Regions from separate parts of the Homo sapiens genome. Here region 1 is linked to region 2. The links are contacts of gene promoters, found by promoter capture Hi-C in human tissues and cell types (Jung and others, 2019). All regions are on one chromosome and are shown on one strand. The core of a region is centred on a gene start or on the middle of the fragment in contact, and the rest is flanking DNA. Distances in the headings are between cores, read along the strand shown.

What was found. The method cuts DNA at HindIII sites, captures the fragments that hold promoters and counts their contacts. A contact is called where the count stands out against the background at its distance.
Region 1: a contact is called between the fragment with the promoter of USP4 here and the fragment with the promoter of CELSR3 in region 2, in 1 of the 25 tissues and cell types used here (adrenal gland).

What each region holds. Positions count from the first base shown.
Region 1 is chr3:49,337,867-49,342,308 of GRCh38, reverse strand. It overlaps USP4 (ubiquitin specific peptidase 4), which reads left to right and starts at 2,256. Exons shown (of 22, transcript NM_003363.4): 1 at 2,256-2,385. The coding sequence starts at 2,285. RefSeq lists enhancers at 1,636-1,695, 1,786-1,955, 1,586-2,085 and a silencer at 2,126-2,315. The HindIII fragment of the contact is 25,899 bases long and covers 1-4,442 here.
Region 2 is chr3:48,660,108-48,664,409 of GRCh38, reverse strand. CELSR3 (cadherin EGF LAG seven-pass G-type receptor 3) reads left to right here and starts at 1,524. Exons shown (of 35, transcript NM_001407.3): 1 at 1,524-4,302. The coding sequence starts at 1,776. It overlaps LINC02585 (long intergenic non-protein coding RNA 2585), which reads right to left and starts at 642. Exons shown (of 3, transcript NR_111921.1): 1 at 597-642. RefSeq lists enhancers at 69-138, 199-558, 873-1,458, 1,329-1,518, 2,630-3,214 and 1 more. The HindIII fragment of the contact is 20,539 bases long and covers 1-4,302 here.

The DNA.
Region 1 (4,442 bases), core at 1,007-3,506, 680 kb before region 2:
AAATAAGAATAATAAAATAAAATAGACATGGCTTCTCTGTTTCTCCTCTTCTCCCTCACAGCCACCTCCATAGTGAGAGGTTCCTAATGGTTCTGTGTCTGAGTTACACCACCGTGGGCGTGAAGCACCCTCAGCCATTTTGTCTCTGCTTCAAAACTTCCTATAATGCCTGCCTGCCTTTTAAGGCAGGATATATGGTCTGTCTGGCCTCCTTTCTAGCTTTAGATCCCCTTAGGCTGTTGTAGCGTTGTAGTGCCCGCCTCAACTGGCCTAATCCCCACTCTCTGATCCTGTCCTGCCTTTTCCAGAAATTATCTTCTGGTCCCTTGAGTCTCCCCTCCTGTAACATGCATCCTCATCTTTATTCTGCCAGCATTTTTTTTCAATACCACACTCAAATGTTACTCAAGTCAAAGGCTTCCTATGAGAGCAGGGGTTGTGCCTGGCGTTCTACAGCCTTTGGTTCACACCCCCTTTTTTTTTTAGAGGGGGTCTTGCTCTGTTGCCCAGGCTGGAGTGCAGTGGCGCAATCTCGGCTCACTGCAACCTCTGCCTCCCAGGTTCAAGCGATTCTTCTGCCTTAGCCTCCCGAGTAGCTGAGACTAGGTGTGGGCCACCACTAACGGCTAATTTTTTTTTTTTTTTTTGTATTTTTAGTAGAGAAGGGGTTTCACCATATTAGCCACGCTGGTCTCGAACTCCTAACCTCGTGATCTGCCCGCCTCGGCCTCCCAAAGTCCTAGGATTACAAACATGAACCACCGCGCCGGACGCCCGGTCTTTTTTTTTTTTTTTTTTTAAGACATTTCGGTCTCCACGTTGGTCAGGCTGGTCTCGAATGCCCGACCTCAGGTGATCCTCCTGCCTCGGCCTCCCAAAGTGCTGGGATTACAGGTGTGAGCCACCGCGCCCGGCCGGTTCACACCCTTTATTTGTATTTATTTTTTTTTTTTTGAGACAGGGTCTCACTTTGCCGTCCAGTCTCAAGTGCAGTGGCGCCATCTCGACTCACTGCAACCTCGACCTCCTGGGCTCAAGGGATCTTCCTACCTCAGCCTCCCAAGTACCTGGGACCACAGACGCGAGCCACTGCCCGGCTATTTTTTGTATTTTTTTGTAGAGACGGGATTTCGCTATGTTGCCGAGGTTGGTCTCTAACTCCTGGGCTGAACCTATCCTTCCGCCTCAGCCTCCCAAAGTGCTGGGACGACAGGCTTGAACCACCGCGCCCGGCCTGGTTCACACACTTTAATGGCACTTACCACATACTGCTAGGCATTGAGGTTATTTCTGTAACATCTCTTCTTTTCTACTAGATTCTATGAGGGCAGGAACTAGGTCTTATTTTTCTCTGAGGACAAGGACTGTTAGACAAGTGTATGGAGACGCATCTAGACCAACTGCCTGACTTCCTCTTTCCTCTGGGTTTACTTCTCCCTCCAAGAGGAGGGTTGTGTGTGTGAGCGGGGCGACTGGAAAACATAGTGTTCAGGACGTTGTATCTTGTTCCAGGAACTAAGTACACGCCTGGGTAACTAATGTGGAGTACCTCTCCTTCCCCTGTTGCTATCGCCCCTCTGTGGCTGCTTGGCAAGTAGCTCAGTATGAAGAGCTGACGGAATTCTGCGGTGGGCCAGGTGGCTCTGGCGTCGACTGTTTAAGGCGACTGTTAATGACTACAACACACCATTGAGTCTTGGTCCCAAGGCGCTGGTGCACATGGTACTTCCCGAAATCCCTGTAGGGCCGCTGGAGCAGGAGCCCCGATCCCACGTTTGGGCAGCTGACTCGCCTAAGGCCTCCAGCTGAAAGCGGAATTGCAGGGGTGAGAATGAGCAGACCTAACTACCGGGCTTCTCGCACCTGGCCTGCATTTATTTAGGACCACGATAACCTCGAAGGCCAGGCTGGGGTGCCCGATGGGTCGTGGGCTTGCTGCCTAACTCCCTGAGATCGGCGGGCTGAACAGAGCTTCGAAGTGTAGCGCCATCCTGAGCAGAGGAAGGGGCGCCCGAAGGCCGCGTAGCGGGCGGCAGGGCGGGAGGAAGTAGCAGCTGCTGCTCCCCGCCCACCCCTCTCGCGTGTGCCTTTCCGCTCCACTGTTCGCCGGTGAGCTAGGTGGCGCGAGAGCGGAGGGGAGAAAAGACAGCGGCTGCAGGAGCCGAAGGCCGCGGCTCGAGGTGGGGCAGGGGCGGGCACGCGAGCGTGCGTGCGTGGGCGCGGTCTATAGCACGCCGCGCGCGGGGCGGATGTCCGGGCCGGCTGGGCCGGGGCCGCGGAGGAGATGGCGGAAGGTGGAGGCTGCCGTGAGCGACCGGATGCGGAGACTCAGAAGTCCGAGCTTGGACCCTTAATGAGGACCACACTCCAACGCGGGGCGCAGTGGTGAGCTCCCGGCTCGCTCTTCCTCTATGCAGAACCAGGGGCCGAGAAAAAGGGGCCTCCTTTTTCTCGGCTAGAGTAGGGGCTGGGCGGGGATGGTATGTAGTGACCCTGGAAGAGTAGCCTGACACCTGCCCCTCAGGAGAATAACTCCAGGATCAGCTCTGGGAAAGCGCAGGCGGGGCCTGAGTGTCGTCTCAGTTCATTTGGAGCCCTAGGGGGCGGGCCCGGCGGGGGCCAGGAGGAGGGATGTGGAGAAGGGGAAGGTTGGTGGGGACCCTAAGGGTGGGGAGAGCCCTTTACCATGAGGACTCGCCGTGTGACCTTGGGCGAAGGTGTCACAGACCTGGATTCCTCACTGTTAAAACCAGGATAGCAATATTTGGCTCACCGACCTCAGTGGGTTGAGGGGAAAATCAGAAGTAGATACTTTGTAACTTGTAAACTGCCAACAGATGTCAAGGTCAGAAGCTGAACAAATGTCTGAGAACCCCGATTATTTTGGTAGCAAGTGTCAAAAATATTTGCGGCAGCAGTGTCTTGGAGTGGGAGAGGAGGATAGCCTAGGTCCTGGAGCTAGATAGAAGATGAAGGGTCCAGAATTTAGAAGACCCAGGCTGAGTTATTAGGCATCTTAATAGATTGTTTAGTAGAGGGGACAATACTTTGTACTACTGGAGAGATTCCTGGGTGGTGTAATTGTGTAGGAGTAGAAAAACTAAGGCTAGACTTTGCATCGAGTATGATTGTTACCCATCTTGTTTGTTTTGTTTTGTTTTGAGATGGAGTTTCACTCTTGTTGCCCAAGCTGGAGTGCAGTGGCGTGATCTTGGCTCACGGCAACCTCCGCCTCCCGGGTTCAAGCGATTCTCCTGCCTCAGCCTCCCGAGTAGCTGGGATTACAGGCTCACGCCACCACACCCAGCTAATTTTTTGTATTTTTAGTAGAGACCGGGTTTCACCATGTTGGGTAGGCTGGTCTCAAACTCTTGACCTTATGATCCACCCGCCTCGGCCTCCCAAAGTGCTGGGATTACAGGTGGGAGCCACCGTGCTCGGCCCGAGTGTTACCTATCTTTAAGAAATCATTGTGGTGATGATCTGCCGAGGAATTGAGCAGGAGAATAGAAAAATTGGGGTTAGGAGGAGTACAGATAACAGCTTATGTATTCACCTTGAGCTAACCAGTTTGTGAAAGGCAGGGTAAACAGAGGTACTTTTTTTGTGTTTTCTTTTCTTTTCTTTTCTTTTTTTTTTTTTTTTTGAGAAGGAATTTCGCTCTTGTTGCCCATGCTGGAGGGCAATGGCGCGATCTCGGGTCACGGCAACCTCCCCCTCCCATGTTCAAGCGATTCTCCTGCCTCAGCCTCCCCAGTAGCTAGGATTACAGGCATGCGCCACCACGGCCGGCTAATTTTTTTTGTATTTTTAGTAGAGACGGGGTTTCTCCATTTTGGTCAGGCTGGTCTCGAATTCCAGATCTCAGGTGATCGCCCGCTGTGGCCTCCCAAAGTGCTGGGATTACAGGCGGAAGCTACTGCGCCCGGCCTAGCAGAGGTACTTTTTAAGTTAACCTCTATAGGGTTCATAAAGAATACTCAGCAGAAGTAGAGGAAGTTTAAGATAGACTAAAATCATACAGTAAAATTGTATGGAAGGTATTGCTCAAGGGATTTGGAAGAAAAATAGCATTTTAGAGATGGATGTGTTTATGGATCCTTGTGACCTCTGGGAAGCTGCCTGACCTCCTCTCACATTTGTTGGTTATAAAATTTTAAGGATGCACCAATATAATTGTTGATGCTTTGTTGCTCCACAGAGATTGTTTTAATTGTAAAACAGCATAGAGATACTTTTTTTTTTTTTTTTTTTTTTTTTTTTTGAGACGAAGTCTCGCTGCATCACCAGGCTGGAGTGCAGTGGCGCGATCTCGGCTCACTGCAATCTCTGCCTCCCGGGTTCAAGCGATTCTCCTGCTTCAGCCTCCCGAGTAGCTGGGATTATAGGCATGCACCACCATGCCCCGCTAATGTTTGTATTTTTAGTAGAGACAGGGTTTC
Region 2 (4,302 bases), core at 275-2,774:
TCAAAGGAGTTCAGCCCTAAGTGCCTCTGCAGATCTTCCACCCCCACTCACAAACCCGTAGGAACCCCGGCCGTGTATCAGGCCCAGAGCTCTGATCCTGGGGAGGTCCTCAGATTCGTAGACAGGAGAGGGAACAACTGGACACCTGTTGCCTGACCTTGGTAGCCACAAGGGGCGCTCGGGAGGTGGAACCCGCAGAAGCCCCGCCTCCCGGAAGCGGAGCAGTCAAGGGGCGAAAGGATGCGCCGACTGATTGGTTGATGGTGATGTCATAGGGACCGTTCGGGGCGGGCCAGAGGCCTTGGCCAGGAGTTCCTCGCCTGTTAGAACCAGGATCCACCCCATCGCGGGAGCCGCACCCTGTGGAGCGTTCTGGGGTCCCGGCCCTGACCTCTTCCTGGGCTTCGGGATGCCCGCGTCCTCTGCACCCGGCGCTGCAGCTCGTTATCGATTCCGCCTTTGGAGGCCGGTCCGTATAGTGTACCTCCCGGACTCTCTCACGGTTAGCCGGCAACCCGCGGAGCCCCCTCCCCCATGCGATGAGTCCGCCGTGAGGGGCGGGGCCTCCCATTGTGCCAATAGAAACAATGACTGACCGATTGGAGTGCTCCGCGTTCACCCCTCGCCTCCGCTCCTCTCGTGACGTCTGTTGCGCCAGGTCCACCCATTGGCCTGGCGAGACCGGCGCGTGCCAGGAGTTACGCAGGGAGAGCTGGAATGCACCGAGGGTGGGGGGAGGACTGAGTTTCTGTGTCAGTCCCTTCAAGGGGTTAAGGCATGCGGTCGTGACGGACGAGGGGCGGGGACCCGAAGAAGCGGGGCCCGCAGCCATGGGGCAACGCCGGGCTCCACGTGGCATCCCAGAGCACTCGGGACTCGCAGCCTGGGAGGGGGTGCAGCCTCCAGTGAAGGGGCCCCGAGCCCGGGAGACTGCTGGGGACCAGCAAGGCAGGGAAGAATTTGGCCTCTGCTCCCGCCTCGGGAGGGTCATCTCTGGTCCCTGCTCCGCAGGGGCGATCCAAACAAGCAGGTGGTCGCGACATGTTTCATAAAACTAGCTGATGGGATAGTTAAAGCTATTGTTCGGGGTGCTGGCACCCCAGACCCCTCTCCAGCCATCGTCCCCTCTACCCCAGGATTTCACACAGTACCCCCTCCCAGAGCTATGAGAACGCTCATGGGCACCAAAATTTCAGACCAAAATCCGGGACACGGTTCAGAACTAGTGGTCAGGAAGGGGGAACAAGAGATCTGGAAGGACAGAAAAAGGCTGGGAGACGGAGCTGGGACAGCGCCCTAGAAGGAGGGAGGTGGGTGAAGGCGGCGACCGAAAGTGGGGAGGGCGGACCCAACGACGGCGAACCTTCGCGCTCTGTTCAGCACCAGGAGCAACGCTCACGTCCTCAATAAAGATGGCGGCAACATCTTCGGTCCTCAGAGCTGCCATGCGCGATGGGTTGTACCACCGTGTTTCGGGCGCCGGGGCAGAGGTGGAGCGAACCATCGGGGCGGCCGGGAGCCATGTTGGAGCGGCGGGAGGCGGCAGCAGCGTCGGGGATGCTGTGGTGGGGGCGGAAAAAGCCAGGGCCGCACGCCGGAGGGGCTCCGGCCGCGGAGTAGATGGTGCCCAGAGGGCGGCGGGGGTGCGGAGAGACAGGCGGAGGGGCGGGGGCCCGGGGCGGCGGCAGGGGCCCGGGAGGGGGCCCGAGCGGCGGGGCCAGCCCAAGGCCCGGACCGGGGCGGGGGGCGGTGGAGGCCGTGCAGGGAGGCGGGGGATGATGGCGAGGCGGCCGCCGTGGCGGGGCCTCGGGGGACGGTCGACCCCCATACTCCTGCTCCTTCTCCTCTCTTTGTTCCCCCTCAGCCAGGAGGAGCTGGGGGGCGGTGGGCACCAGGGCTGGGACCCAGGCTTAGCTGCCACTACGGGGCCAAGGGCGCATATCGGTGGCGGAGCCTTAGCTCTTTGTCCGGAGTCTTCCGGGGTCCGGGAGGATGGGGGGCCTGGCCTGGGGGTCAGGGAGCCTATCTTCGTGGGGCTCCGAGGGAGAAGGCAAAGCGCCCGGAATAGTCGAGGGCCCCCTGAGCAGCCGAATGAGGAGCTGGGGATTGAACACGGCGTCCAGCCATTGGGCAGCCGCGAACGAGAGACAGGACAGGGACCAGGGTCTGTGTTATACTGGCGCCCAGAGGTCTCCTCTTGCGGGCGGACAGGACCTTTGCAAAGAGGTAGTCTGTCACCAGGGGCTCTGTCCTCAGGGGTCCCGGGCTCGGGGAACAGCTCGCCCCTCCCTTCAGACTTTTTGATTCGGCACCACGGTCCCAAGCCGGTGTCCTCCCAGCGGAACGCTGGGACAGGCTCCCGCAAAAGAGTGGGCACCGCGCGCTGCTGTGGGGAATTATGGGCAACAGGGAGCAAGGGTCAGGGCGAGAGAGCCACGACATCCGGAGCAGAAAGGACAGCCCCCCGGCGGAACTGTCTTCCAGGGGCCTCGGGATCTGGCCCCGAGCTGGATTCAGCACCACGCACGGCGAGGACAGCTCCTGCATCAGGTTCAGCACCCCGCGAGTCTCGGACAGCTCCCGAGCCGGCGCCCAAGCGCATGCGCTCCCGGGGTCTCTTCCGCTGCCGCTTCCTCCCGCAGCGCCCCGGGCCGCGTCCCCCGGGACTCCCGGCCCGTCCTGAAGCCAGGAAAGTAACCTCGGCGAACCGGGCACGCTTTCGTCGCGCCGCAAACCGCCACCCGCAGTTTCCGCAGTACAACTACCAGACGCTGGTGCCGGAGAATGAGGCAGCAGGCACCGCGGTGCTACGCGTGGTTGCTCAGGACCCGGACGCCGGCGAGGCCGGGCGCCTAGTCTACTCGCTGGCGGCACTCATGAACAGCCGCTCGCTGGAGCTGTTCAGCATCGACCCGCAGAGCGGCCTTATCCGTACGGCGGCAGCTCTGGACCGCGAGAGCATGGAGCGTCACTACCTGCGTGTGACCGCGCAGGACCACGGGTCGCCGCGCCTCTCGGCCACCACGATGGTGGCCGTGACAGTAGCCGACCGCAACGACCACTCGCCGGTTTTTGAGCAAGCGCAGTACCGGGAGACCCTTCGCGAGAATGTGGAGGAGGGCTACCCTATCCTGCAGCTGCGTGCCACTGACGGCGACGCGCCCCCCAACGCCAACCTGCGCTACCGCTTCGTGGGGCCGCCAGCTGCGCGCGCTGCAGCTGCCGCCGCCTTCGAGATTGATCCACGCTCCGGCCTCATCAGCACCAGCGGCCGAGTGGACCGCGAGCACATGGAAAGCTATGAGCTGGTGGTGGAAGCCAGCGACCAGGGCCAGGAACCCGGGCCGCGCTCGGCCACTGTGCGCGTACACATAACTGTGCTAGACGAGAACGACAATGCTCCTCAGTTCAGCGAGAAGCGCTACGTGGCGCAGGTGCGCGAGGATGTGCGCCCCCACACAGTCGTGCTGCGCGTCACGGCCACTGACCGGGACAAGGACGCCAACGGATTGGTGCACTACAACATCATCAGTGGCAATAGCCGTGGACACTTTGCCATCGACAGCCTCACTGGCGAGATCCAGGTGGTGGCACCTCTGGACTTCGAGGCAGAGAGAGAGTATGCCTTGCGCATCAGGGCGCAGGATGCTGGCCGGCCACCGCTGTCCAACAACACGGGCCTGGCCAGCATCCAGGTGGTGGACATCAATGACCACATTCCTATTTTTGTCAGCACGCCCTTCCAAGTTTCTGTCTTGGAAAATGCTCCCTTGGGTCACTCAGTCATCCACATTCAGGCAGTCGATGCAGACCATGGGGAGAATGCCAGATTGGAGTACTCCCTAACTGGTGTGGCACCTGATACTCCTTTTGTGATAAACAGCGCCACTGGCTGGGTCTCTGTGAGTGGTCCCCTGGACCGTGAGTCTGTGGAGCATTACTTCTTTGGTGTGGAGGCTCGAGACCATGGCTCACCCCCACTCTCTGCCTCAGCCAGTGTCACCGTGACTGTGCTGGACGTTAATGACAATCGGCCTGAGTTCACAATGAAGGAGTACCACCTACGACTGAATGAGGATGCAGCTGTGGGCACCAGTGTGGTCAGCGTGACCGCAGTAGACCGTGATGCCAACAGTGCCATCAGCTACCAGATCACAGGCGGCAACACCCGGAATCGCTTTGCCATCAGCACCCAGGGGGGTGTGGGTCTGGTGACTCTGGCTCTGCCACTGGACTACAAGCAGGAACGCTACTTCAAGCTGGTACTAACTGCATCTGACCGTGCCCTTCATGATCACTGCT